Linked DNA regions of Homo sapiens: regions 1, 2 and 3 are each linked to region 4. The links are contacts of gene promoters, found by promoter capture Hi-C in human tissues and cell types (Jung and others, 2019). All regions are on one chromosome and are shown on one strand. Each heading gives the region's core, a stretch centred on a gene start or on the middle of the fragment in contact. The rest is flanking DNA. Distances are from core to core; before and after follow the strand shown. Region 1 holds the start of AGPAT2 (1-acylglycerol-3-phosphate O-acyltransferase 2). Region 2 overlaps EXD3 (exonuclease 3'-5' domain containing 3). Region 3 holds the start of DPH7 (diphthamide biosynthesis 7). Region 4 holds the start of DPP7 (dipeptidyl peptidase 7).

Region 1 (6,913 bases), core at 4,214-6,713, 430 kb after region 4:
GTCCACGCTGCCACTGGGATCGGAAGGGCGGATTCCTCCCTCCTTCCGTCACTCATTCACTCACCAATGGGGCACCTGCCATGGGCCAGGAGCAGAGTAGAGGGTGTTGGAAGCGAACCCACGGGTGGGCGGTCGGGTGGGGAGGGAAGCCCGCCTGCCTCTGCCCACAGGAGCCCAGGCCTGACACGGCCCCAGGACACAGGCCCCTGCCCCACACGGCAGCACGGATGCCCACGGCCCAGGCCTGGCATGGTTCAGAGGAGGACGTGGACACCAGGTCCACTGGGGGCTGCCTGGACACCCTGGAAACTGTGTGCACCACCCGGGTGGCCGTGGGAGTGCGGCGCTCAGCCTGAGAAGGACCCAGCGTCGGAAGCCCCTGTAGGCGCCAGAGCCGGCCCTCGGACGCTTCACCAAAGGAAGCTGCAGCCTCGTCTGGGCTCCGACGGCCCTTCCTGGAGGTCTTGCCGTTTCTCTCATTTGGTGGAAGAGGTCACGGCCTGTGGCACCCAGGCCCCGGCTTTCGATGCTGAGCCCCGAACCCCCGGCCTCAGCCTCATCTTGCCAAGAGGATGATCCTGTGGAAAGGTGAAGTCGCTCCCGAAATTGGGGGGCGGCTCTGAGCCCCCAGTTGGGTTTGCTAAGGCTTGGACCGGTGCTGCCAAAGGCCCTTCCGACCACATCATGGGCAGGGCGCAGGGCCAGAGCCAGGGCCACCCTGCAAGAGCCAAGCCCCTGGACACCACTGCCGGTGGGGAAACTGGGGAAATAGGTGCTCTGGAGGTATTTGGGGGAAGGGTGAAGGAGGAGCCGACTGCAGCCCAGGCCCCCCTGCCCCCGCTTGCTGGGGTTGGGACCTCGGCTCCTCTGCCCCAGTGGGATCAGCTGCTCCAAGCCCCGCCACAGTCGGGAGGCCCTTGGAGGGGCTCAGGGAGCAGAGCCCGCTGTGGTGGGTGGGGCAGCCTTGGTAGTGGAGGGGGCTCCTGAACCGCCCATTCTCTGGGGCACTTGCCTCCCTCCTGTGCCCTAGGCGAGATACCAGAGGAGGGGGCTTGGAGGCCCTAGGCCTGATTGGACGCCGCCCTCAGCAGTGAGTAAAAAGCCATGGGGTGAGGCCGAGGCTGGGGGCTGGGCCTTCATCCCTGCCTTGCTTGGGCTGGCCTGGGCCGTCCCAAGCCTCGGTCCCACTGAATCATCACACGCACCCTGCACGAAAGGGAAACTGAGGCCTAGAGAGGCAGGGCTGATCCAAGGTCACCCAGGGTCTCCTCGCTGGGTCGGGCTGCCTGACCCTGACCCTGGGCTCTTCAGCCCCACACCACACCCCTCTCGGACTGGGACCCAGGCACCCTCTGGGCCTCCGTGGTCCTGTGTGAGCTCCAGCCATGGCTGCGTCAGAGGCCGGAGCTCTGCGTCTGCTCTGGTACTTCCTGCCACGGAGCCCGACTTGCCCGGGCTCCCTGCTCCTCAGAGGCTCCACTTAGACACAGGTGTGCTGGGTGCGAGAGGCCGTGCATAGGGCACAGCTGCTCTGGGCAGGGAAGGGCTACTGCAGTGTGGGCCCCTCCTCCCTGGGCCGTCTCCTCCCTTCTGTCTCCTGATGCCTCCCCGCCCCTGTCCTCTCCATCCACCTCTGTCCTCTGTCTCCCAGCCCAGACATCATCCTGGCAGGAGAAGGACCCTGTGGGGTGTGCTCTGCCCCTCACTCCCACCCCAGCCTGTGACCTAAGAGCTCCGGATGGGACATCCAAAGGCGTGACCTCCTGTTGGCTCCTACATCTGGGGCCATATGTCCCAAGGTCCCACGTGCCCTGGCCAGCGCCCCTTGGAGCCCTCACCCGCCCTCCCTGACTCCCTAGGGAGAGTGTGGACCGCCCCGCCTGCTGCAGAGGTCTGGGCAGCCAGCCCAGAGGGCTCACCTCATCTATTTTTAAGCACAAACCCATGAAAGATTCACAGGCTGCTTTATTTACAGGTGGTGGGAATGGCATTGCGCCCAGCACACCCACCAGGAGGCCGGACAACCCGTCGGCCAGGGTACGCTCTGCCCGAGAGCCCCAGGCATGCCCGGCTTGGACCTCAGCCACTCTGTGCAGGCTGAGGTCCCGGCATAGCCTGGCCTCCCCGTCCAGCCCCCAAGCCAGGCTTTGATGTCCTCCCTGGAAGGAAGGAGCCCCTGAAGGGTCCAGCCCGAGGCCCAGCTGTGCCGTGGCTGCCCCCTGGCCACACGTCCCCGTGTCTCCAGCTGCCGAGAAGCTCTCCCCTTCCCTGGCTCTTGTCCTGGTGTCTCTCCGGGGCAGGTCTTTGGGGAGAGGCCTAGTCAGGCCCATGTGCCCCGCCAGCCCGGCAGCTGCCTCCTGTCACACACTGGGCACGGCGAGCGTCACGTCTCCACTTTACAGATGAGGAAACCGAGGCTCTGGTGCCTTGGCTAACTCAGGGTTTAGGTTTAAAGCCAGATGGACTGGTCTTCAAAGCCCGGCTGCCCTGCCCCTGCCAGTCCTTCCTGGGCCACACAGCACTGGCTTCATCTCTGCTTCCTGGAATTGGAGAGGCTTGGCTGGTCCTTCCGTCCTCACTCGCTCCCTGAGCTGTGTGGGCTCCCCGGGCCTCAGCAGCCGGTGCCAACTCAGCTCTCACTGTCACCTGGTGTCATGCGCTGTCTGGCCGGGTCCCAGCAAATGCCCAGGAGGACTCTCAGCTGTCCTTGGGTGGGTACAGCCGCACGGCCACCACCGGCCCAGCACTCCCTGCCCCTGGTAGCTGAGGGCATCTCAAGGGTCAGACAGGGCGCTGGCCATCCCTACACAACAGAACCAGGCTCCCAGTCCCTCACCACACTCTTGGGATAAACCCAGCAGAGCCCATGCCAGCCCTCCCTGGGTGAGAAGCACTCATTTTAGAGAAAATCTCTTTTCTAGGCTGGGCGCGGTGGCTCACATCTGTAATCCCAGCACTTCGGGAGGCCGAAGCGGGCAGATCACTTGAGGTCAAGAGTTTGAGACCAGCCTGGCCAACATGACAAAACCCTGTCTCTATTAAAAATACAAAAATTAGCCGGGTGTGGTGTCGGGCGCCTGTAATCCCAGCTACTCAAGAGGTTGAGGTAGGAGAATCTCTTGAACCCAGGGGGCAGAGCTTGCAGTGAGCCGAGATCACGCCACTGCACTCCAGCCTGGGTGACAGAGCGAGACTCCGTCTCAAAAAAAAAAAAAGAAGAAGAAAATCTCTTTTCTTGGCATCTCTGCCAGCCCATAAGATTCTCTGGAGCTTTACTTCTAGAAACAAATAATGTGTTAGCTTCCCAAATGTGGCATTATATTAAAATACACAGTACTTCCTCATCACTCCCCAAGTCCCTGGCCCGCCTCCTCTTGGATCTTGTCGGAGGAAAAGTGGACGTTTCTCTCAACACTTCTGCAAGGTGCAGAGAAGAGGGAGGAGGTGAAATTAGGTCTCACCCTCTTCAGGAGAGCAGTGGGCAAAACCCCACCTTGTCTGGGGAGGCAACAGGGTCACCGTGTGCTGCCCTGGCACTGTTCCTGCCAGCCCTGGCAGGAGTCTTCCGGCTCAGAGTCAGCCTCTTTTCCTCTGTCACGTCCCGGCTGTCTGGTGTTCACCCTTGAGAGCCTCAGTTTTCCCTCTGTAAAATGGGGATGCCTTTGCTACTATGGAAAGTGTGTGCTGAGCACCTGCTATGTGCCAGACATTGGCCTGAGTGCTGGTCGCACATGGTGCACAAAACAGATGAGGCCCCACGGGCTCCATTCCGGGGGGAGGAGAGGAGGGAGAGGTGTCCAACACACACACAGTCACCTAGGGGTGCAGGAAGATGGTGGCCACCCTGGAAAGGTCGGTGGGCTGGGAGGTAAAGGACAAGAAGGGGGCTGGCATGTAAAGCCCCTGGACAGGCCTGATGGTTGTGAGGACTGGATTCCACAGCCAGGGTACAACCTGCTCGGGACCTGGGTGCACAGAGCCTCCAGCTGAAGGTGCTGTGAAGCCCCACTCCTCCAGGAAGTCCACCTGGGACCCCAGCCCACACCCCCGCATCCCCCAGCTCCCGGCAGCGGCACTCCTGTCTGCAGGGTGCACCCACCTCATCTGCCCTGGAAGATGAAAACCCCGCAGCCGTCAGCAGCCACCTCTCAGCCTCTCAGAGGCACAGCAGTGCAGCTCTCAGACCTCCCGGCTGCGGGGTGTGCAGTTCCGGCTCCAAGCGTGGAAAGAGGTCAAGCCAGGCCCTCCAAGCTGATTCCAGATGAAGCCCATATGGATCTGGAAGGAGACTGGGCTGGAAAATGCTCTCCTGGGTTTCGCTGTAAGATGCCTACAGGCCTAAGGCAAAAGGATGTGTCTCCACTTTCAAGAAAAGCTGGGACCGCCTGGGCAGGGGCTGCTGAGCCCAGGCAGCGAGACCCCACGTCCTTCAGGACCGCAGTTCCCCATTCATTTGAAGAGCAGTTTCTGTATTTGTCATTCTCTCAGTACAGTTTGGGGGGTGGTTACAATGTTCAGGGAAATGTTTTAACAGCTCAACTCTGCATCTGAAAAAAGAGGGGCCGTGCTCCCCTGCTGACCCGTTAGAGCGCAGGGCGGCCAGCACTCCCGCAACTGCAGCAAACCCAAGAGTCCCTATGAGGAGGGACCCCAGGAAACTGCTTTTCAATCTCCATCTGCTCCCTGAGGTGGGACGCCGGGTGGGGGCCGGGCCAGGTGACTGCTGCCCTTGTCCCAGCTGCACCTTGCCCTGCCACGCTGGCCGTGCTGCCAAGCGGATGTGAACGCCGCCACCTGACACCCACCTCGCCTGCCCCCGGAGCGTCCCTGGTGACAAGGCTACTTCTGGCACCCAGGGTGGGGCAACCCAGCCCCGCCCAGACACACGCCCCAGTTGGCCTGCGCGCCCCCACGAGTCTCCCCGCAGGGGACCGAGAACACCCTAAGAGCCAGGCTTTCTGCCAGGTGGCCACTGGTCACTCGGGGGCGGTTCCGGCGGCCCTTTGCGTGGCCACCGGCCTGGCACGGGCGCATCCCCGCTGGTTTTACGCCCTTGGGGAGCTGTGGTTCTGCGCGCGGGAGCCTGTGGCTGCCCCGGCAGCGGGGGGAGGGGGCACCGGGCGGGGCAGGAGGCCCAGACCATGGGGGGCAGCGCCAGAGCCCGAGCCACCGGCAAGCCATGATGGGGGGGTCCCCTGGGACCGGGAGGGTGGGAGCAGAGCGCCAGAGCCTCGGTAACCTGGCAGAAGGCTGTGGGGAGGGAGCGTGGAGGGGAGGTCCGGGCCGGGTGACCCAGGGCGGGAAGGGGGGGCCGTGTCGGGGCGGGGTTGGGGACAGTGGCGGGGCGGGGCCTGGTGAGGGGACCGTGTCGGGGCGTTGTTGGGGACAGTGTCGGGGCGGGGCGCCGCACCTAGCCCTTCCCTGCCGCGCGCTCCTCCCCCACGCCGCGCCCCGCCCCGCCCAGCCCCGCCGCCCTCGCAATAAGGGGCCTGAGCGCGCGGGGGAGAAGCGGGAGCGGGAGCGGGAGCGAGCTGGCGGCGCCGTCGGGCGCCGGGCCGGGCCATGGAGCTGTGGCCGTGTCTGGCCGCGGCGCTGCTGTTGCTGCTGCTGCTGGTGCAGCTGAGCCGCGCGGCCGAGTTCTACGCCAAGGTCGCCCTGTACTGCGCGCTGTGCTTCACGGTGTCCGCCGTGGCCTCGCTCGTCTGCCTGCTGCGCCACGGCGGCCGGACGGTGGAGAACATGAGGCAAGGCCGGGGGCCGCCGGGAGGGGCCGGGGAACCGCCGCGCCGCTTCCGCTTCCCTAACTTTCTTCTGGGCTTCCCTCCTTCCTGCCCCGCCCGTCCCGCCCCGCTCCGGGGCTCCGGGGAGAGCGCGCCTGGGCCGGCGGCAGGCACAGGAGGGGGTCCCGGAGTCAGGGGGTCCCGGAGTCACGGGGTCAAGGAGCCGGCGTCACAGTGCCCAGCACCCCACCCCCCGCCCTGGCCCCGGGCGTCTACACCGGTTTCGGCCTCCGCCGCGTCCCTGCAGCCCGGCGTGGGGTTCCGGGGGTGGAGCAGCTTTCGGAGAGAAAGGGGGCCGGTCCGCGCTGGGAGAGGCTCAGCCCTGCTTCCTGAGCGGGGAAACCGAGGCCGGGGCGGCGGGGACTTGCCCCAGGGCTATTGATCAGGGCGCACGACGGCGTGGGGGCACCCCTCGGCCTCCCTCCGACCCCCTCCTGACTGTCCGCCCGGTGATGGGCGCACCTGTGGGGCGGGTTCCCCTTTCTCTCCCTTTCCTCTTCGCAGGGAGGTGGGGGACCCGGAGGGGACCTGCTTCCGTGCTGGGGAGCGCGCCCCTGGCCTACAGCTCCGGGGGCCCAGCTTCCAAGCGAAGGGAAGGAAGAGTTAGGACTAGGGTTCGGCGGGGCTGAAATTTTCCCCTGGACGCCTTCCAGAAGGTGGGAGCTTGGTTTTGCCAGGCTGGGGTTGGGGGCCAGAGGTCAGACTGGGCTGCCAAAGACGGCGGGGGCTGCCTGCTCCTGGGCGGGGTGGCTGCTGGAGAAGGCTCTTGCCTGCCCCCTCTCCCTGTTAGCCGTCCCCAGGCTGTTGCTACATTTCTCCCTGCCCTGTTTGGACTGCCCAGCCAGTGGCTTTTGCAATGGCCTGGGGTGGGGGCATTGTGGCCCCAGAGGCCCCCTTCCCCGTGGTTCCAGGGGCAGTGGGTGAGGGTTTGCTAGCTCCCTGCACTCGCTGTCCTTGCCAGCCCTGGGAGGGCACTGAGGCTGCTGGAACGGGCCTACAGTCATGGCTTCCAACGGAGCCCCAGAAGCTCCAGGAATATGAAGGAGGACCCTGGGCCTGATGGTGAGCATGGAGAGTCCGAGAAGGGCCTGCTGGCTGCTCAGCCAGACGTGTGTGACCAGTGGTGATGTGGG
Region 2 (6,767 bases), core at 603-3,102, 300 kb before region 4:
CCAAAAATACGTCATCCCAGTCCAAGCCTTGGTAGAATAACCAGGGTCTCCAATTGTGTCCTGTTACAAGGACAACAGATTCTTACTGAACTCATGCAAAGAACTACATTGCCATAAAATAAGAATACTCATGAATCGCTTCCAGATTTTTGAGAAATCAGGTAGAGAAAAAGACAAATATTTCAGTTTTGCTCACAAAAGTATATGTCACTCAATTGCTATAGCTATAAATAGCTCAAAAAGAAAAAGGTTTTCTGACTCTGGAAAACAAAATATAAAAAGAGTCAGCAAGGTTTCGATAACAACAAAAAATCATAAAAAGCATTTCAGGCCTCTATCAGTTCAGTTCTATGTAATTTGCTGGGGTTTTTTTTGTTTTTTTTTTAGGCGGAGTCTCCCTCTGTCGCCCAGGCTGGAGTGCAGTGGTACAATCTCGGCTCACTGCCAGCTCCGCCTCCCGGGTTCACGCCATTCACCAGCCTCAGCCTCCCGAGTAGCTGGGACTACAGGCACCTGCCACCATGCCCGGCTAATTTTTTTGTATTTTTAGTAGAGATGGGGTTTCACCGTATTAGCCAGGATGGTCTCGATCTCCTGACCTCGTGATCCGCCCGCCTTGGCCTCCCAAAGTGCTGGGATTACAGGCATGAGCCACCGCGCCCGGCCGCTTTTTTCTGTATGATGTTGGGTTAACAATCCTCATGAATGCATCAGCTTTTAAATAAGAGTCCTGGAAGTTTTTATCTGGTCTACTGGTGTGATCTCCCAGGTTATCGGAAGTCTGTATACTTGTCAATGTCCTTTCCATGAATTTCCTTGAAGAAAATGCAAATTTTGGACTGTACCTTATTTTATTTTATTTATTTATTTATTTTGAGATGGAGTCTCGCTCTGTTGCCCAGGCTGGAGTGTAGTGGTGCGATCTTGGCTCACTGCAACCTCCGCCTCCCAGGTTCAAGCGATTCTCCTGTCTCAGCCTCCCAAGTAACTGGGATTACAGGCATGAGCCACCATGCCCAGCTAATTTTGTATTTTTAGTAGAAACGGGGTTTTACCACATTGGCCTGGCTGGTTTCGAACTCCTGACCTCAAGTGATCCACCCGCCTCAGCCTCCCGAAGTGTTGGGATTACAGGCATGAGCCACCGTGCCCGGCCTTAAACTGCATTTTGAGAAGAATCAAAGTAAAACAGTAATTTTCTGCAGATGACAAAAGACTTAGAGTAGCCATGGGTGAAGACGCGATTGGCAGGGAATTTGGTTACTTCTGAGGTTAAAACAGTTTAACATATAATCGTAATCACGACTGATAACATATACCAAGACATGTCAGAATTTTTAGGAATCTCATACAATTTTGGAACATATGTTAATAATACATTTATACCAATATAACTCCAACAGCATTCCACATTTGACAATGCTTCCTGTATGATTTTAACATACCACATAAGCCTCGTACATCTCCCTTGGACTTCTCGGGGTTCCTATTTGTTATATCCAAGTTAGTTCAGGTGAAAAAAACCCTTAATGTTAGGACTTGAAATTTGGTTTTGGGAAGTCAAATATCAGAGGCTTAAAACAATCTCAAAATAGGACCACAGGTCACTGTAAAATAAGCCATTCATTTAATCAAATTGGTAATTCAGAGATTTCCCAAACCAAAAACCTTTACTATGACAGAGAGGAGACTTAGTTTCCCAAGCAATCAATAGACCTACTAAAGACAGCGTGAGGCAAACAGAATGTCTCTCCCTCTTTCCCCTTTTTTTTTTTCTGTTTACTCAGAAGATAAAAATATTTTACAATCTCTTATTACTACACGAAATGTTGTTCAAAAGAAAAACAAACTCTGCTTTTCTTATACATCTCACGTACAGAATTGTTTCTCTTATATTTAGTAGTTTCAGTTACATATATTAATTACAGTGTTAACTTCGTGACCCTAATTTTCCGTTAAAAACTCAGCGAGTAATTTTGAACTGTATGTGTAGATGGAAACCATTTCATCATGTTTTACAGAGATGCATCTCCTAAATTTTTTTGTTAACAGATGTAAATATATTTAGCTTTCCTATGCCATATAAAAATAAGATACTAAAGTATATAAGCTTAAACTTACGCTTAGTAATTAATGTTTCAGTGTTTTACTTAGAAATGACTCAGACGTTTGTTTGTTTGTTGTTTGTTTTTTGAGACAGAGTCTCGCTCTTGTCGCCCAGGCTGGAGTGCAGTGGCGCAGTCTCGGCTCTCACTGCAACCTCTGCTTCCCGGGTTCAAGCGATTCTCCTGCCTCAGCCTCCTGAGTTAGCTGGGACTACAGGTGCATGCCACCACGCCTGGCTAATTTTTGTATTTTTAGTAGAGATGGGGTTTCACCATGTTGGCCAGGCTGGTCTGGAACTCCTGACCTCAGGTGATCCGCCCGCCTCGGCCTCCCAAAGTGCTGGGATTACAGGTGTGAGCCACTGCGCCCGGCCACAAAAGGAGATTAATAGGAGAAGTGGCATCACCCAGGGCACAGACCTCCTGCCAGCCCCGGGGGTCCTCGGCCTCCCAGTGACCGTGCGTCCCCGAGGCTCACCCGTCCCCTCCGTGGTCCCACCCCAGTCCTTGCAGCTCACCCCCTCCGGCCCCGCCAGCCCCTCACCCACGGGCTCCTCAGATCCTCAGGCTCTGTCCTTTCCTCCCCGCCTGACGGCCCGGCCTCCCCCGCAGGCGCCCTGGGCAGGACCGGCCCGCGGCACGGCCTGCGCTTGAAGGAGGCGGGAAGGGCCCAGCGCAGTGGCCGGTGTGCCCGGGGCGCACACGTGGTGTCGGTGATGTCGCCTGCGCCGACCTCCTGTTCCGTTCGTGGCGGAAGCTGCTCCGCCGCGTGGTGGCCGCGCGCCTCCTCCTCCGCTCGGCCGTTCCTCCTCTGCGGCCGCCACGCGCAGCGCGGCTGGGGTAGTTTGTGCGGACGCGCGTTGCTGGTCCCCGTGGTCTCTGCCCGGGAGAGGAACTGCCAGAGCCCGTGGTCGCTGTGTTCGACTTTCCGAGGAACGGGTGGGCTGTGGGGTGTGGCCACGCCGCCTCCCGCCCCTCGCGCCGTTGGCTCCGTGCAGATGCGGTCAGCAGGGGCCTCCGCGCCGCGGAACCCGTGGTCAGGTTCGGCCTCACCCGTGGACCCGTCTGGCGCCTCTGCGGGCGCGCTCGCTTCCTGGCAGCCTGGGCGCTGCCGGGGTGTGCTGTGCTCACCACCCGCCGCCTTTCCCATTTTCACGACAAGCCGTGGGAAACTGGCCATCCCCGTCCCTGCGGCGCCCGCGTGAGTCCGTGGCCGCGTCCTCTGTGCGAGTCCAGACCCGTGTGTCTCCCACCGCCCACCTGACTTCTCCCCCGGCGTCTGGTGGGCGCCCCTCCCTCGGGGATGAAACCCCGCAACGCGGCCCCGGCTTTGCCCGGGAGCTCGGTCGTCACGAGGGTCGCCCTCTCCTGCCGTTGCCGCCTCCGCCTGTTCTGAGGCCCACAGGGAGGCCGAGGAGATCCTAAGGTGGGGTCCCCTTGGTCAGACCCTCCCGTGGAGTTGGGCGTGTTCTGGCCGCGTCTGTCGGGAAACGGGGAGGTGTCGGGGCTTCCTGGCCTCCTGACGGCCGCACCGTCATCAGTCCCGAGCCCAGCTCAGGGAGGGCCTGCTCCCTTCTGCTCCAGGTGGGAGCGGCTCCTGCCCGGGGCGCCTCCAAGAGCACCCCTGCGAGCTCGCGACAGCCCCAGGCTAGGCTGCGGGACGGCCTACCGACCCTTGGTGTTGATCCTTGTGTCACGGGGAACCAGGTCCTGGAACCGCCTGGTGCCACCTCGGTGTGACCTGGATGTGTCCCGTCCCCATCCTCCTCAGAGGGTGGCCGCCTGGCGTGGCGCAGGATGATGCTCTGAGCCGGGTTGCCCAGCACGTGTTAGGGTCCTGGGTGGAGAGGACCTTTGGGAAGCAGCAGCCGGGCTGACGAGGGTCCGGATGCCTGCCCGGGGACCAGCGAGGTTCCGGGCGCCTGCCCGGGGGTCAGCTGGGCCGGCCGGATGTTTCTGGTGGAGACCTGGGAGGTGAGGCGGTGGGCTGCCGGCGGTCCCTCCCTGGCTGTGCAGAAGCTGCGGTGGAGTGTGAGCTGGACCTGGGGGTGCCCGGCCTGATGGGAAGGTGGCAGAGGCTGTGTGACATGGAGATAGGTCGTGAGGGCCCCAAGTCCGCCCCTTTGTCCCTGTGGGTCCCTCACTCTGGGAACCTCGGGCTGCTGAGGACTGAGACGTGCAGTGCCCTCCCCCTGGTGGAGCGGCCACCCAGCCAGCCACCGCAGAATTCTTGGCCCTCAGGCACTGCAGAAGAGCGAAAGCCCTGGCTGTGGGTCCCAGGTGTGGCTGGCAGTGGCCGGCGGCAGGCAGAGGCCCTGTCACCATGGGTGAGGTGTGGAGGTGCTAAGGCTAAGATCCCATCCTAGTTTTAACCTTCAAAAATATCATTCATGGTTTTTTCTTTGTTCATGAATACAAACCAGGGTGTATACATTGTGTAGTATTCAGAAAATACAAAACAGAAAGCACAGAGGCACCGTCGGCAGAGCAGCCAGGCCCTCACACGTGCATCTGCCTGGTTTTGAGAAGGGACCTTGCACCGTGCAGCGTGATCCCCTTAGGGCAACGCGACTTTATGCTGCTCTGTGAACCCTTTCCCATGCCATTAAGTATTTTTATAAAACATGGTTTTTAAATGCTGTTTATCATTCATCAGATTCTACCTTGTGTGATCAGAACTGGGGTCCTTGGGAAAGCCCACCCTTGATGGGGGACTGTTGGCCCCAGCCCCGTCTGTGATGGTGACCCCAACATGTGCTGTTGGCACCTCCCAGAAAGGGTTCCCCAGAGCCCATGGGCCACCTGACCCGTCCTTGCAGCTGTCCCATGGTACATCCATGTGTTGTGGGCAGTGAGCTGCAGGGAGGTGGGGTGCACAGAGAAGCTTGCCGCAGAGCTAAAACCAACACGGTGAACAGGGAAGGTGTCCTTCAAAACCGCAGCCTGGGCAGGAGCAGTGGCTCCTGCCTGTAATCCCAGCACTTTAGGAGACCGAGGCAGGCTGATCACCTGAGGTCAGGAATTCGAGACCAGCCTGGCGAACATGGAGAGACCCTGTCTCTACTAAAATTACAAAAATTAGCTGTGCATGCCTGTAATCCCAGCCACTCAGGAGGCTGAGGCAGGAAAACGGTTTGAACCCGGGAGGCGGAGGTTGCAGTCAGCTGAGATCGCCCCACTGCACTCCAGCCTGGGCAACAGAGCAAGACTCCATCTCAAAAAACAGAAAAAAAAAAAACAAACCTGTGACAGGCCCAGCGCAGTGGCTCACGCCTGTAATCCCAGCATTTTGAGAGGCCGAGGTGGGCGGATTGCTTGTGGTCAGGAGTTCAAGACCATCCTGGCCAACATGATGAAACCGCGTCTCTACTAAAAATACAAAAATTAGCTGGGCGTGGTGGCAGGCACCTGTAATCCCAGCTACTCGGGAGGCTGAGGCAGGAGAATCACTTGAACCCTGGAGGCAAAGCTTGCAGTGAGCCGAGATCGCCCCCCTGCACTCCAGCTTGGGCGACAAAGTGAGATTCCGTCTCAGCCTGGACAACAGAGCGAGACTCCATCTCAAAAACATAAAAACAAACATACAAAGAAACCCTGCGACCTACGTGGAGCCCACGGGGGCCAAACATGCCAGCACCCCCCTGGAGTGGCGGTGTGGGACCCCACACCTGTCACACCTGCTGGCCTCCTTCTCCATCTCCTGTGCAATATCCCTGGAAAGTTACTTTTTGTGTTTAAAATTGGTCATGTTAATTGTTAAGGAAAGGAACAATCCTTAAGTTAAATTGGTAAGTTTAAAAAAACGAAAGACAGACCGCAACAGGCGTTGGTGAGGCTGTGGAGAAATCAGAACCCTCGTGTGTTATCGATGCTAGCGTAAAATGGCACGTCCACTGTGGAAACAGTCTGGTAGTTCCTCAAAAAGCTAAACATAGAAACACCGAGACTCAGCAGCTCCAGTCCTAGGAATGTGTGTCCCCAGATCAGTGAAAACACACTCCACACAGAAACATGCACACAGCTGTTCACAGCAGCACTGTTTATAACAGCCAGACAAGGGGGTGCGGCCCGAATGTCTGCTGGACAAACAGCCCGTGGTCTGTGCACACAGTGGGGCAGGACTCAGCCACGGAAAGGCAGTTCCAGCACATGCTGCTGCAGGGATGAGTTTTGAAGACACCATGCCAAGTGAGGTCAGTCAGCCACAAGAGAACAGAACCTTGGCCGGGCGCGGTGGCTCACGCCTGTAATCCCAGCACTTTGGGAGGCCAAGGGAGGTGGATCACGAGGTCAGGAGATCGAGACCATCCTGGCTAACACACAGTGAAACCCCGTCTCTACTAAAAATACAAAAATTAGCCGGGCGTGGTGGCGGACGCCTGTAGTCCCAGCTACTCGGGAGGCTGAGGCAGGAGAATGGCGTAAACCCGGGAGGCAGAGCTTGCAGTGAGCCGAGATGGCACCACTGCACTCCAGCCTGAGCAACAGAGTGAGACTCCGTCTCAAAAAAAAAAAAAAAGAAAAAAAAAACAACAGAACCTGTGTGGTCTCCTTTATAGGAAATGCCCAAAATAGAAAGATTCACAGAGACACAAAATGGCCAGGGGCTGAGGAGGGGCAGAGGGAGTAATTGTTGATGGGCACATGGTTGGTTGTCTTTGG
Region 3 (6,817 bases), core at 822-3,321, 460 kb before region 4:
ATGAGCACGGAGTGCAGGGGTCCCCTTTACCTGCATCCAGGGGTGTGGCCATGTTGCCCCTGACCAGCAGGGCTGCTTTGTTTGGCAGTCATTCATCAGAAAAGTGCACTGAAAGAAGCGCCCAGGGCCTCCCACCTGTGAGACACCACGCTGGGGAAGGGGGCGGTGCAGGTTCTAGGTTTGCATGTGGCAGCTCCTCCAGGCCTCACCCCAGCAGGTGGCACCGTGAGGGTGGGACGGGCCCCACCACTGCTTCCCTCTCACCTGATACCCAATCCTCTGGTCATCTTTCCCGTTCCGTGGCCCCGACTTCTTGGTCTTCGTAGCCAGGTATCTAAGACGTCCTGTGAGGACATCCAGATGGCTGCAATGTGGGGCTGCTTCTAAAGCTTGTTTGGAGTGTGGTGTGTTGGGATGCGCACCTGGTCACTCTCCCTCCCCCGCAGAGGTGTGTGGTTGAGGCCCTTTTGGAATGCCCTGCTGCCTTCCTGGCCAGCCTTTTCTGCGCCTCTGTCTCTGTGGTGGTCTGAGCTGTTGGCTCTCTGCCATGTCTTTAGCCACAGCCCTGCTTGAAGCCCTGAGGCTGAATACCCAGGCACCCGTATATTTCAGTCAAGTCCGCCTTAGCTTCCTGGAGCTGCCGCAACAAAGCAGCGCGAGCTGTGCAGCCTGAAGCAGCGGGAATTCACAGTCTAGGCTCTGGAGGCCGGAGTCTCAGATGAAGGCGCAGGCAAGGGCCCTCAGGTGCGGACGCCTCCTCCCTGCCAGGTGCCTTGCCTGCCTCCCTGTGCTCTGCACAGCAATGGCCCTGCAAGTCTTCTGCATCAGCTTTCTCTTCTGCGGACTCCTGCTCCTCTGGGTCAGGGCCCACGCCTGCTGCTTCTGAGAGCCCCTGTTTGTTAAGGATGCTCTCTGAGGTGCTGGGGTCTTCAGTCCATTGTTTTTTGGGGGGCACAGTTCAACCTGTAACGGCCCAAGGGGTTCTTCCTGCCCGCTGCACACATTCAGACCGTGGATTGCAATAAAGAAAAAAAGTTTAGGGCCGGGCGCAGTGGCTCACACCTGTAACCCCAGCACTTTGGGAGGCCGAGGCGGGTGGATCACGAGGTCAGAAGATCGAGACCATCCTGGCTAACACGGTGAAACCCCGTCTCTACTAAAAATACAAAAAATTAGCTGGGCGTGGTGATGCGCGCCTGTAGTCCCAGCTACTGGGGAGGCTGAGGCAGGAGAATGGCTTAAACCCGGGAGGCGGAGCTTGCAGTGAACTGAGATCGCGCCACTGCACTCCAGCCTGGGTGACAGAGCAAGACTCCGTCTCAAAAAAAAAAAACAAAAAAATTAATAGACACGGGCCGGCCAGGCCACATGTGAGATGGAGTTCGTCCTCAGATCATCTTGTCCAAAGCTCCTAGGTTAGGGGTTTTTTCAAAGGCAGTTTTGGGGGAGGGGGGCGGCGGCCAGGCGACTGGTGCTGATAATCATAGGGGTCGGAGCCGTCCACCTGCTGAGCCGCTTCTGGGGGGTCCTGATGCAGCCACGGGTGTCAGACAAGCAAAGACCCTGGAAGGCGGTCTCTGAGGGGCAGCTCCGCCATGGCGGGTTCACAGGAGGCAGGCAGAGCGCGCCTGCGGCCTCGGGGTGCTGGGCTTAGTGGGGCGCGGGCTCCTCATCAGCTTTACGAAGGCGTTGATTCCGGGGCAAGGCCTGTCATGGAAACTGCAGCCTAAATGTTAAGTCAGCGCGGCCCGATGGCCAGGAGTAACCGGGAGGGCGCCACGGGGTGCGCTACCGCAGCTCGCTGTTGGGGTTTTTCTCAGTGATAGAAATTTTGCAGAGGCGGCTTCAAACCTACGGCTCTGTCACTAACTTGCCGTCTCCAAACCTGCTTTGTGGAGGAGCGGATTTCCCGAAGCCTTCGGTCTCTACGGCCCCGCAGGGAGCAGCGCGTCTGACGCCTGAAGCCCGCCGCGGTCAGCCGGCCGACAGGGGGCGTGGGAGCCTGGCTTCCCAGGGGCGTCCACGGAGGCCAAGGCCCTGCCGGATGTCCCGCCCCGGCACCCCGGAAGGAGTCGCGAGAGAGGCGGCCCGCGCTGACGGTGTCCCTGGGGCTCTGCGCTCGTCCGGCCGGCCCCGGCCTCGCCGCCCCGCGCAGTACCCAGCCCGGCCCCGCCGACCCGCCTCTACTGCCGGCTCCGCGCCCTTCCCCGAGGGCTGGATGATGGGCTGTTTCGCCCTGCAAACGGTGGACACCGAGCTGACCGCGGACTCGGTGGAGTGGTGCCCGCTGCAAGGCTGCAGGCACCTGCTGGCGTGCGGGACCTACCAGCTGCGGCGGCCGGAGGACCGGCCTGCCGGCCCCCAGAACAAGGTGCGCGCGCCGCGGCTTCGGGAGGGGAGGGCGGGGCCGGCCACGAGGTTGAGGCCGAAAGGCGCACCGAATCGCCCAGGAGATGAAGAGGGGATATTGGCCCTTTGGCCAGGAGGTAGGCTGGAAACAGTTTAGAATCTTTTTAAAAAAATTGTTCTCGGCCGGGCGCAGTGGCTCACGCCTGTAATCCCAGCACTTTGGGAGGCCGAGGCGGACGGATCACGAGGTCAGGAGATCGAGACCATCCTGGCTAACATGGTGAAACCCCGTCTCTACTAAAAAAATACAAAACAATTAGCCGGGCGTGGTGGCGGCGCCTGTAGTCCCAGCCACTCGGGAGGCTGAGGCAGGAGAATGGCGTGAACCCGGGAGGCAGAGCTTGCAGTGAGCCGAGATCGCACCACTGCATTCCAGCCTGGGCGATACAGCAAGACTACATCTCAAAAAAAAGAAATTACTTTTTTCTGAGACAAGGTCTTGCACTGTCACCCAGGCTGGAGTGCAGCCTCGGACTCCAGGGCTCAGGGCATCCTCCCGCCTCAACCCCCTGAGTAGCTGGCACCACAGGCACGAGCCACCGCCCCCGGCCAACTTTAAAATCTTGAGAGCAGAACGTCTTCTATATACAGGTGTGGCCCAAGGGAATGGGTGGAATGTACAGTAAAGAGAAAGTGGGAATTATATCTTAACTTCTGGTGGGTACATATTAGGATCCAAATTGGGCACTGGAACAACAGGCGTAAGTCAGGACTGTCCCAGGCAAACTGGGTTCTGTGGTTACCCTAGCCATAGCTGGTCCCTGTTGGCCGGTTTAGAAGGAGCCTTCTCTACTGGGTCCAGGAGTGTTCACCTACTCATTAATAGACGTTTCTCCAGCTCAGAAAACCAGAGGTTCTCCTTCCAGGCAGAATTCCACTCCTTTAGTCATGGCAAACCTTTGAGTTCCTTGGATCCCTTTTCCCATCCTTTGGGTTCCTTCGTGTCTTGGGATAATCAGAGACTACCTCTGCATTTTTTGTAGGGTGGAATGGAAGTTAAGGAGCCTCAGGTCCGTTTAGGCCGTCTCTTCCTGTACAGTTTCAATGACAACAACTCTATTCACCCTCTGGTCGAGGTCCAAAGAAAAGATACTTCTGCAATCCTGGACATGAAATGGTATAACTGTGATAATCCCACTGGGTGTAGAATTTGTCATGAGTAGCAATCAGGGAAGCCTGATGCCTGATGCCTTCAACAAGACAGGCATTGCATCTCAACTTTGGATTTGTTTCTTTGCTGTCCCGCCTATCTTCCACCTGGGGAGTGCTTTACCTGGGGCTTATTTCCTTTGTCATGTTCCAGCCGGGGAAGTGATGGGAGTTTTCTGACTTCATAACCTGGGGCGTCTTTTGTTTGAGAACACAGTTGTAGGCTCTAGCCCACTTTTGGAGCTGAGATTTAAATGCAGTGGTGTGTGGCATAATTATGTTTTGGTCAACAATGGAGCACGTATACCATGGTGGTGCCTTAACGTAATGGAGATGCCCTATACAGGTGTACCAGTTTTTATCCTTTTTAATTTTTTTTTTTTTGAGGCAGGGTTTTGTTCCGTTGCCCAGGCTGGAATGCAGTCACGTGATCATAGCTCACTGCAGCCTTGAACTCCTGGGCTCAAGCAATTCTCTGTCTCAGCCTCTCGAGTAGCTGAGACTTCAGACTTCAGGTAGATGCCACCATGCCTCTTTTTTTTTTTTTTGAGACGGAGTCTCGCTCTGTCGCCCGGGCTAGAGTGCAGTGGCGCGGTCTCGGCTCACTGCAAGCTCCGCCTCCTGAGTTCACGCCATTCTCCTGCGTCAGCCTCCCTAAGAGCTCGGTCTACAGGCGCCCGCCACCACACCCGGCTTATTTTTTTGTATTTTTAGTAGAGACGTGGTTTCACCATGTTATTAGGATGGTCTTGATCTCCTGACCTCGTGATCCACCCGCCTCAGCCTCCCAACGTGCTGGGATTACAGGCGTGAGCCACGACGCCTGGCCTTACCACACCTCATTTTTGTTTGTTTGTTAGTTTGTAGAAACAGGGTCTTGCTATGTTGCTCAGGCTGGTTTCGAACTCCTTACCTCAAGTCATCCTCCTACCTCAGCTTCCCAAAGTGTTGGGGTTACAAGTGTGAGCCACCATGCCCGGCCACCTGTTTTTTATCCTTTATATTGTATTCTTACTGTATCTTTTCTATGTTTAGATATACAACCACTTCCTGTTGTGTCACACTTGCCTGCAGTAACATGCTGTAAGGTTTGTGGCATAGGAGCAGTGGGCCATACCATATAATCAAGGTGTGTAGTAGGATGTCCCAGCTGGGTTTGCGTGGACTGCAGCCCCGTTGTTAAGGGAAGCGTGACTGTGGTTACCGGGACGCACAGTGCACGCCTGTGCTCCGGGCACATTGGTGTGCTTATGGTGGGCCCTCTCCTCAGGTGTCACATCCCGGTGGCTGGACATGCCCTCTTGGGCTTGGCAGATGCCAGTGGATCCATACAACTGCTCCGCCTGGTGGAATCTGAGGTCAGTGACTTGCACTTGTTCTGTGGGGCAGAAGGGACCTGAATAGAGAGGGTTGGGGAGGAGGCTGTGCTGATACAGACATTTTTCTAAAACGATCTCTCTTCAATGGTGAGCTATATATAAACGTTCTAAGATAATGTGGAGTCTATTTTTAAGTTGTATTGCGTTCTACATCCAACTCCAAGAGGAAGTCACCTCATGTGTCACCAGCAGAAGGGCTGAAGTGACAGGATGTTCATTGACCTGTCAGTGGATCTGAAAGTTCTCTAAGGAGAGCCTGGGCAAGCATTCTTAGGTTGATGCTGGGGCCCAGAGTAGCAGTGAGCATCCTGTGTGAAGATGGCATTTCTCACTGATTATTGGAAAAGCACGTGAGTCCTGTGTGAATTTTTCCGAGTTTCTCACAGTGCTCTGGAGCCATGCATTAACAAAGTGACTTCATCTGATAGCTGTCGGGGAGGAGAACGGGGATGTCCCGTAGTGGGGTGATGTAAACAGCCTGAAACCACGCCCTCACTCCGATGCAGATGCTGCAGGCGGGGCTGGGCCAACCGAGGGCCTGTGTAGGAAAAGGCCTTGCTTAAGGCAGCTTAGAGCAGTTGCCCTGTCTTAGAAAGGAGGGAAAGAGCAGCCACAGGAAAGCTGTGGGCCCAAGGGAGGAGTGCATGAACCCAGGAAAGGGCTTTGGTACAGCAGCCTGCTGGGAGCAGGGATGGAGTTAAGCACTGGCCAGGCTGTTTAGGAAATGAAATTTATATAGATCTGCATAAAGAGCAACCACGTTCTCATGGCTGCTCGCGGCTTCTGAAGTGGAAACCAGAGGAGTTTCCCCATTGTCTCTGTCTCGGGAGGCGAGTGTTCCAGTGGCCCTGGAGGCCTGGGGTGGGAAACTGTGTGTGCCACTGTGGTCTGGAGCCTGCACAGGCATCTCGACAGCATCTAGGAGCGCAAGGATGGCAAGGGGGTGTGAAAGGGAGGGAGACCATGCCCCAAGATCAAGCCTGTGGGAAAGTTGTCCTGCAAGTGTGAGGAGTGTGAGCTCCAGTGTCCCCAGGTCTTCTCGGGGCCCCTAGCAGGGGTTTCAGTGTTAGGTGGAGGTGTGACTCAGTGACTGATGTACTTCATTCGCATAGGTTGTAAATGAGGGAACGATGACTTCCCTGCAGGAGAGGAAAAGTCTTTTGGGGGTTCTGGGGCGGCTACTTCCCTTTGATGGAGTTTCTTCTTCTCCAGTAGAAGAGCCACGTGCTGGAGCCATTGTCCAGCCTTGCCCTGGAGGAGCAGTGTCTGGCTTTGTCCCTAGATTGGTCCACTGGGAAAACTGGAAGGTAAGGGCCAGGCTTGGTCAGGGGTCCTGAGTCTTTCTCTGAGAACCACTTCCACTTTTCAGGCTAGAGGGCTCCAGCCACCTTCAGCGAGCTGCGACTGTGCTCCTCAGCCCTGACATCATCACTGCCAGTCCTATTATGAAAAAAAGGTCCCCCATTTTAGATACATAGCGATAGTGTTTTTACCTAGAGAAGTCGACACTGGTGTCTTTGACAAGCTTAGCAGTGGTTGTGATCTTAGCCGCCAGTCTCTTAAGGGGCATATCCGCATCCCAGGGCTGTGGAGACCGTCTCTCAGGACTTGTTTGGGAACCAGAAGAGGCTGACGAATAACATTCTGCCGGGCTTCTTCATGGGTTCCCTGTGTCTAGGGCCGGGGACCAGCCCTTGAAGATCATCAGCAGTGACTCCACAGGGCAGCTCCACCTCCTGATGGTGAATGAGACGAGGCCCAGGCTGCAGAAAGTGGCCTCATGGCAGGCACATCAATTCGAGGCCTGGATTGCTGCTTTCAATTACTGGCATCCAGAAATTGTGTATTCAGGTCAGTATTCCTCCACCGGTCACCTCTGA
Region 4 (6,674 bases), core at 3,049-5,548:
GTGGAGGAGCAGAGTCTTCTCTAAACTCCCCAGGGGAAAGGGAAACTCCCTTTCCCTGTCTGCTAAGTAGCAGGTGTTTTCCCTTGACACTGACGCTACTGCTAGACCATGGTCTGCTTGGCAACAGGTGTCTTCCCAGATGCTGGCATCACCGCTACACCAAGGAGCCCTCTGGTGGCCCTGTCCTGGCATAACAGAAGGCTCGCACTCTTGTCTTCTGGTCACTCCTCACTATGTCCCCTCAGCTCCTATCTCTGTATGGCCTGGTTTTTCCTAGGTTATGATTGTAGAGTGAGGATTATTATAATATTGGAATAAAGAATAAGTACTACTAATGATTAATTATATTCATATATAATCATATCTAAGATCTATATCTGGTATAACTATTCTTGTTTTATATTTTATTATACTGGAACAGCTCATGTCCTCGGTCTCTTGCCTTGGCACCTGAGTGGCTTGCCACCCACAATCCTGACTAACACAGTGAAACCCCGTGTCTACTAAAAATACAAAAATTAGCCAGGCATGTGGATGTGCGCCTGTAATCCCAGCTACTCAGGAGGCTGAGGCAGGAGAATTGCTTGAACCCGGGAGGTGGAGCTTGCAGTGAGCTGAGATTGCGCCATTGCACTCCAGCTTGGGCAACAGAGCGAGACTGTCTCAAAAAAAAAAAAAAAAAAAAAAAAAGCAGGCATTTCACAGCCATGTTCATCGCATCAATATTCACAATGGCTAAAACAGGCCGGGTGTGGTGGCTCACGCCTGTAATCCCAGCGCTTTGGGAGGCTGAGGCTGACAGATCATCTGAGGTCAGGAGTTCAAGACCAGCCTGGCCAACATGCTGAAAACCTGTCTCTACTAAAAATGCAAAATTTAGCCAGGCGTGGTGGTGGGTGCCTGTAATCTCAGCTACTCCGGAGGCTGAGACAGGAGAATGGCCTGGACCCAGGAGGCGGAAGTTGCAGTAAGCCGAGATCGTGTCACTTCACTCCAGCCTGGACAACAGAGTGAGACTCTGTCTCGAAAAAAAAAAAGGACAAAATGCTGTAGGATTCCACTGATATGACGTACCTGGAGTCAGCAGAGCCACAGAGACAGATGGTAGAATGGTGAGTGCCAGGGGCTGGGGTCCATTGTTTAATGGCTACAGTTTCTACTGGGGGTGATGAGATAGTGGAAAATAGTGATGACGGTGCACAGCGTTGTGAAGGCAGGAATGTACCTAATGCCACCAAATTTCACACGCGGAAGTGGTTAAGTGGTCAATTTTATATTATGTATAATTCAGCACACAGACCAGCACGGCCCCAAGTGCGGATGCAGTAGGTCACGGCCAGCCGCCCGCCGATAGCCTTTCAGTCTGAGGGACAGCACAGACGTGATGTGTGGCCGGGCATGGCCCCCAGTCTGTGAGCCATAGAGGGTGGGACTGGGTGTCCCAGCAGGAATCGGGGTGTGGAGGAGCTGCCTAGATGGTCTGGAGAGGGCAGATGGACCTCGAGGGGAGGGTTTGGGCTCAGCAGCCTCTCACCCTTGCTGGCCAGGCTCCCAGGATTCCCTGCCCAGGGACCTCTCACCCCCTCAGCTGGTGGCTCTGCAGCCAACCTGCCCGTCTGTGCTGCTCCGGGGATGGGCAGAGAGAGATCGGGGGTGTCTGCACAGGCATGGGCAGCCTAGGCTCACTTGCCCCTTGGGTGACCTACTGTGCCCTGCACAGGCTGACGAGGGCCCTGGCGATGCAGACCTGGGGTCCTCCTGCAGAAGTTGGGCCCCTTCACATGTCAGGTTGCTGTGCCAGTGAAGGGGTGGCCAGCCCCTCCACACCTGTGGGTGTTTCTCGTCAGGTGGGATGAGAGACTGAGAAAAGAAATAAGACACAGAGACAAAGTATAGAGAAGGCAGTGGGCCCAGGAGACGGCGCTCAGTATACGGAGGACCCGCACCGGCCCCGGTCTCTGAGTTCCCTCAGTATTTATTCATTACCATTTTCACTATCTTTGCATGAGGAATGCGGCAGCAGAGCAGAGGTCAGCAAGAAAATGTGAGCAAAGGCATCTGTGTCACAAATAGCTTGAAGGGAAGGTGCTGTGCCCGGATGTGCACGTAGGCCAGATTCATGCTTCTCTCCACCCAAACATCTCAGTGTAGCAGAGTAACAGAGCAGCATTGCCGCCAGCATATCTCGCCTCCAGCCACAGGGCGGTTTTCTCCTGTCTCAGAATAGAACTAATGTACGATCGGGTTTTACACGGAGACATTCCGTTCCCAGGGGCATGTCGGAGACAGAAGCCTTCCTCTTATCTCAACTGCAAAGAGGCCTCCCTCTTTCACTAATCCTCCTCAGCACAGACCCTTTATGGGTGTCGGGCTGGGGGACGATCAGGTCTTTCCCTTCCCACGAGGCCATATCTCAGGCCGTCTCACTGGGGGGAAACCTGGACAATACCCAGGCTTTCTTGGGCAGAGGTCCCTGCGGCTTTCCGCAGTGCACTGTGTCCCTGGTTAATGGAGAATGGAGGATGGCGATGACTTTTACCAAGCATACTGCCTGCAAACACATTGTTAACAAAGCACATCCTGCACAGCCCTAAATCCCCTAAACCTTGAGTCAATACAGCACATGTTTCTGTGGGCACAGGGATGGGGCTAAGGTTACAGGTTACCAGCACAGGCCTAGATGCCTTAAACCTTGATTCCATACAGCATATGTTTCTGTGGGCACAGGGATGTGGGCAGGGGACTGTGGCCACCCTCACCCCTGGCAGAGCCATGCTGGGTAGCCCCATGCCCACCCTTCCCGGCTTGGGAGGCCCTGGCTGCTGCCCAGAGGGGCATCAATGCCTGGGCCGTGGACAAGAGGGAAAGTGGCTTCCTTGGAAACCCTGCTCCTGGAGCCCTCCCTGAGGCTCTGGCCCCTCTGTGGGCCCAGCCAAGCCTGGAGCGTCTCCAGGCTCTGGTGTGCTTGGGGAGCTGGCCAGCTCTCGGCCTAGCTGGCGTCTCCAGAGCTGCGGTCCTGGGTGAGGGTTGCTGGTGGAGTTCTGGCCACCTAAGGCACCCGAGGGAGCCAAAGGAGCAGAGGTGTGGGGTGGGGGACGCCGTGGGGTACCTCCACATCCAAGGAGGTCTGCTGTTTGTCCTCACCCCCGTCCTGCGGGGGCCCCGGCAGGCAGCCCCAGGAACTGCGTAGGGATGGGACAGGGCCCAGATGTGAGGGCCGTGGTGGGGACGGTGTGTGGCCCTGGATGACCTCGTGTTGCAGTGTGACGTGATGGTCACTGCCACCATGCTGAGGGCCCCAGCCACCAGTCACCCACCATGGGGGGTGCCTCTGTGTGAGGCACGGGAGGGCCATGGCGTGAGGGGCTGTGGAAGTGGCCGGTCTTCTCCGCTCAGCCCCACACAGGATGGGCAGGGCAGGGTCATGCTGGCCGAGGGTAGTCTTGGGAGAAGGACAGGGTAACTCTCTGTAGCTGAGCCCCTGCTGCCCCTGCACCTGTTCTGGGCCTGGCTAGCGGCCCATGTACATCCCCAGCAGGACTCCACGTAGCTAGTCTGGCACCCACCACTACGGCCCCCTCACCCACTCCCTGAACTGGACGCTGGGGAAAGGTGACTTCTTCCATCCTCTGGGTGCTCCCCAGGGAGGAGGCCCCAGCTCCCAGCAGAGGCCTCTGGTCCCCCCTTGTCCCTGCAGGGCTGTGTGGGCACACTGGGTGCCAGTCGGAAGGGCAGGTGGCGATTCCCAGCTCTTGGGAGCTACCCGGCCACATCCCGGCCCTGCCCAGACGCTCCAGGGGCACCCCACACTCCTGCCCGCTGCGAGGCCCCGCCCCGCCAAGCCCAGCCCGTTATCGCTTGGACAAACCCTGGGTTGCTTTCTTCGGGGGGCCAGCACTCTGTTTGGGACCCTCTCCCTCCCGCCCTTAGGGCAGCAGAACGGCCCCCACTCTCCCGGCCCTGCCTTGGAGTGGGGCACCTGCCAGGAGCAAGTGCTGGGGAGGCTTGGCGGGCGCAGCAGGGACTCGCCCTAGCGCAGCTCCGGATGGGGCCGCGGTAGGAGGACGAGCCAGTGGGGCGGGAGGCCGCGGAGATGGCCCGGGGGCCCTCTGCTTCCCCGCGCCGTGCCCGGGAAGGACCCCTGGGCAGCGGCCGCGGGGCGCGGGGTGTTGGGGGGCACAGCCCCGGCGCGGCGCTGAAGCAGCGACGGTCTCCGTGGGGACCGCGGGCGCCCGAAACACGTGGGGCCTGGAGGGAGGAGCGCGCCCTGGCGGCCCCGTGACCCCGCCCACGTGACGGGCGCCCGCGGAAGGCGACATGGGCTCCGCTCCCTGGGCCCCGGTCCTGCTGCTGGCGCTCGGGCTGCGCGGCCTCCAGGCGGGGGGTGAGTGGCGGCGCCCCCCGGCCCATTCCCCGGTCCCGGCCCCGCCTCTGAGGTTCGCGTCCCCCCACAGCCCGCAGGGCCCCGGACCCCGGCTTCCAGGAGCGCTTCTTCCAGCAGCGTCTGGACCACTTCAACTTCGAGCGCTTCGGCAACAAGACCTTCCCTCAGCGCTTCCTGGTGTCGGGTGAGACCCCGGCCCCGGCCCGGCCGCCCCCGCCGTCCCGCCGCCCCCCGGCACCCTCGCCTCATCCGCCCTCCCCACAGACAGGTTCTGGGTCCGGGGCGAGGGGCCCATCTTCTTCTACACTGGGAACGAGGGCGACGTGTGGGCCTTCGCCAACAACTCGGCCTTCGTCGCGGAGCTGGCGGCCGAGCGGGGGGCTCTACTGGTCTTCGCGGAGCACGTGGGTGCCGGGCGGGGTCGCGGGCGGGGTCGCGGGGCACGTGGGTGCCGGGCGGGGTCGCGGGCGGGGGTCGCGGGGCACGCGGGTGCCGGGCGGGGTCGCGGGCGGGGGTCGCGGGGCACGCGGGTGCCGGGCGGGGTCGCGGGCGGGGGTCGCGGGGCACGCGGGTGCCGGGCGGGGTCGCGGGGCCGGGCTCAATGGCACGTTCCCCCAGCGCTACTACGGGAAGTCGCTGCCGTTCGGTGCGCAGTCCACGCAGCGCGGGCACACGGAGCTGCTGACGGTGGAGCAGGCCCTGGCCGACTTCGCAGAGCTGCTCCGCGCGCTACGACGCGACCTCGGGGCCCAGGATGCCCCCGCCATCGCCTTCGGTGGAAGGTGGGCGCCTCCCCCGGCCTCCGCACCCCCTCCCTCCCCTGCCCCGACCCAGCGCCCCCAGCCCTTCTCCCCACTCCCCTCTGACTCCCACCGCTGCCTTTTCGTAAGGCCTCAGGCAGTGGTTCCAGGCTTAGTGTTGCCTCCCCCAGGAAGCCCTCCCACCTGTCCTCCCAGCCACCTGCTCAGCTTGGATGTGCGGCCACACTAGCGGCCTTTCCCAGTGAGAGCTGCACCCGCACCTGGCCCAGGGTTGGAATTTGTGGGTCTCAGAAGTGTCGTCCTCCTTGTGGCACCTGTGGGCCCCTGAGGAGGAAAAGAGGAAATGGGGTGTTGGGGGCAGCAGCCCTAACCCTGTGTCCCTCACCCAGTTATGGGGGGATGCTCAGTGCCTACCTGAGGATGAAGTATCCCCACCTGGTGGCGGGGGCGCTGGCGGCCAGCGCGCCCGTTCTAGCTGTGGCAGGCCTCGGCGACTCCAACCAGTTCTTCCGGGACGTCACGGCGGTGAGTGAGGCTTGGGGTCCTCCAGGCCCCCTAAGGGACAGCAGCTGCAGTCAGCACGGTCTCTTTCCCCCAGGACTTTGAGGGCCAGAGTCCCAAATGCACCCAGGGTGTGCGGGAAGCGTTCCGACAGATCAAGGACTTGTTCCTACAGGGAGGTGAGGTCCTCCCACCGCCTCCCACTGCCTGACCCGCCCCAGCGCCAGCTATGCCCAAACTTCAAGTCTCTGCCCCTTCCACGCAGCCTACGACACGGTCCGCTGGGAGTTCGGCACCTGCCAGCCGCTGTCAGACGAGAAGGACCTGACCCAGCTCTTCATGTTCGCCCGGAATGCCTTCACCGTGCTGGCCATGATGGACTACCCCTACCCCACTGACTTCCTGGGTCCCCTCCCTGCCAACCCCGTCAAGGTGAGGCGCCGCCTCCCAGGGCGCAGGGAGAGGCCGGCTGGAGTGTCCCGAGGCTGGTGGTCAGCGGCCTGACCCTCATCCTGGGAGCCAGGGAGGCGGAGCTGGTGGAGGGGACCCCGCTGAGTCGCCGCTGCCCCTGCACTCCAGGTGGGCTGTGATCGGCTGCTGAGTGAGGCCCAGAGGATCACGGGGCTGCGAGCACTGGCAGGTGCCCTTCCCCCGGCCCCAGATGGGCAAGTGTGGAGACCCCAGGCTTGGCTTGGGTCCTGGGGCCGGGTGGGGCGAGGATCCGCAGCCCGGCCAGGGGCTTTGCCTCCTGCCCCAGGGCTGTGGTGGGGTGGACAGCACGACCTTCCCAGAAACCCTGGGGGAGGCAGGGGCCGTCCCTGGGGACCCTCTCAGCACTGGCTGTAGCCAGGCCCAGCTTGGTGGGTGCTGCCCAAGGGGCCCCTGGGGTCCCCAGCATGGAGGGCAACAGAGGGCAGCAGGCCCCACCCTGCCCCGTGGAGAGCGGGGGGGCCCTCAACAGTCAGGCCCGGGGCTGGCAGCACAGACACCGCCGACCTCCAAGCAGGTAGCCTGGAGGGCCTTCCTCA

The links. Contacts are between HindIII fragments. The study calls those that stand out against the background at their distance.
Region 1: a contact is called between the fragment with the promoter of AGPAT2 here and the fragment with the promoter of DPP7 in region 4, in 2 of the 25 tissues and cell types used here (heart left ventricle and mesenchymal stem cells).
Region 2: a contact is called between a fragment that was not itself captured here and the fragment with the promoter of DPP7 in region 4, in 1 of the 25 tissues and cell types used here (dorsolateral prefrontal cortex).
Region 3: a contact is called between the fragment with the promoter of DPH7 here and the fragment with the promoter of DPP7 in region 4, in 1 of the 25 tissues and cell types used here (lymphoblastoid cells).

Annotation. Positions count from the first base shown.
Region 1 is chr9:136,686,007-136,692,919 of GRCh38, reverse strand. It overlaps AGPAT2 (1-acylglycerol-3-phosphate O-acyltransferase 2), which reads left to right and starts at 5,463. Exons shown (of 6, transcript NM_006412.4): 1 at 5,463-5,744. The coding sequence starts at 5,563. RefSeq lists silencers at 4,737-4,816, 5,287-5,486, 5,707-6,276 and an enhancer at 5,997-6,858. The HindIII fragment of the contact is 28,065 bases long and covers 1-6,913 here.
Region 2 is chr9:137,413,777-137,420,543 of GRCh38, reverse strand. All of the region lies in intron 1 of EXD3 (exonuclease 3'-5' domain containing 3), which reads left to right. Among named protein-coding and RNA genes, the nearest start is that of EXD3, 6.0 kb to the left of the region's middle. RefSeq lists a silencer at 2,578-2,847 and an enhancer at 2,333-3,159. The HindIII fragment of the contact is 3,396 bases long and covers 155-3,550 here.
Region 3 is chr9:137,574,179-137,580,995 of GRCh38, reverse strand. DPH7 (diphthamide biosynthesis 7) reads left to right here and starts at 2,071. Exons shown (of 9, transcript NM_138778.5): 1 at 2,071-2,371; 2 at 3,393-3,526; 3 at 4,829-4,916; 4 at 6,153-6,244; 5 at 6,616-6,788. The coding sequence starts at 2,219. RefSeq lists enhancers at 1,666-1,725, 820-1,791, 4,526-5,335, 5,265-5,559 and a silencer at 1,976-2,385. The HindIII fragment of the contact is 7,311 bases long and covers 1-6,817 here.
Region 4 is chr9:137,112,357-137,119,030 of GRCh38, reverse strand. DPP7 (dipeptidyl peptidase 7) reads left to right here and starts at 4,298. Exons shown (of 13, transcript NM_013379.3): 1 at 4,298-4,384; 2 at 4,455-4,568; 3 at 4,649-4,788; 4 at 5,003-5,166; 5 at 5,535-5,670; 6 at 5,744-5,825; 7 at 5,912-6,078; 8 at 6,226-6,286. The coding sequence starts at 4,318. It overlaps LOC124902314 (a long non-coding RNA gene), which reads right to left and starts at 4,232. Exons shown (of 2, transcript XR_007061874.1): 1 at 1,987-4,232; 2 at 1,253-1,860. RefSeq lists silencers at 4,073-4,422, 4,453-4,602. The HindIII fragment of the contact is 20,655 bases long and covers 1-6,674 here.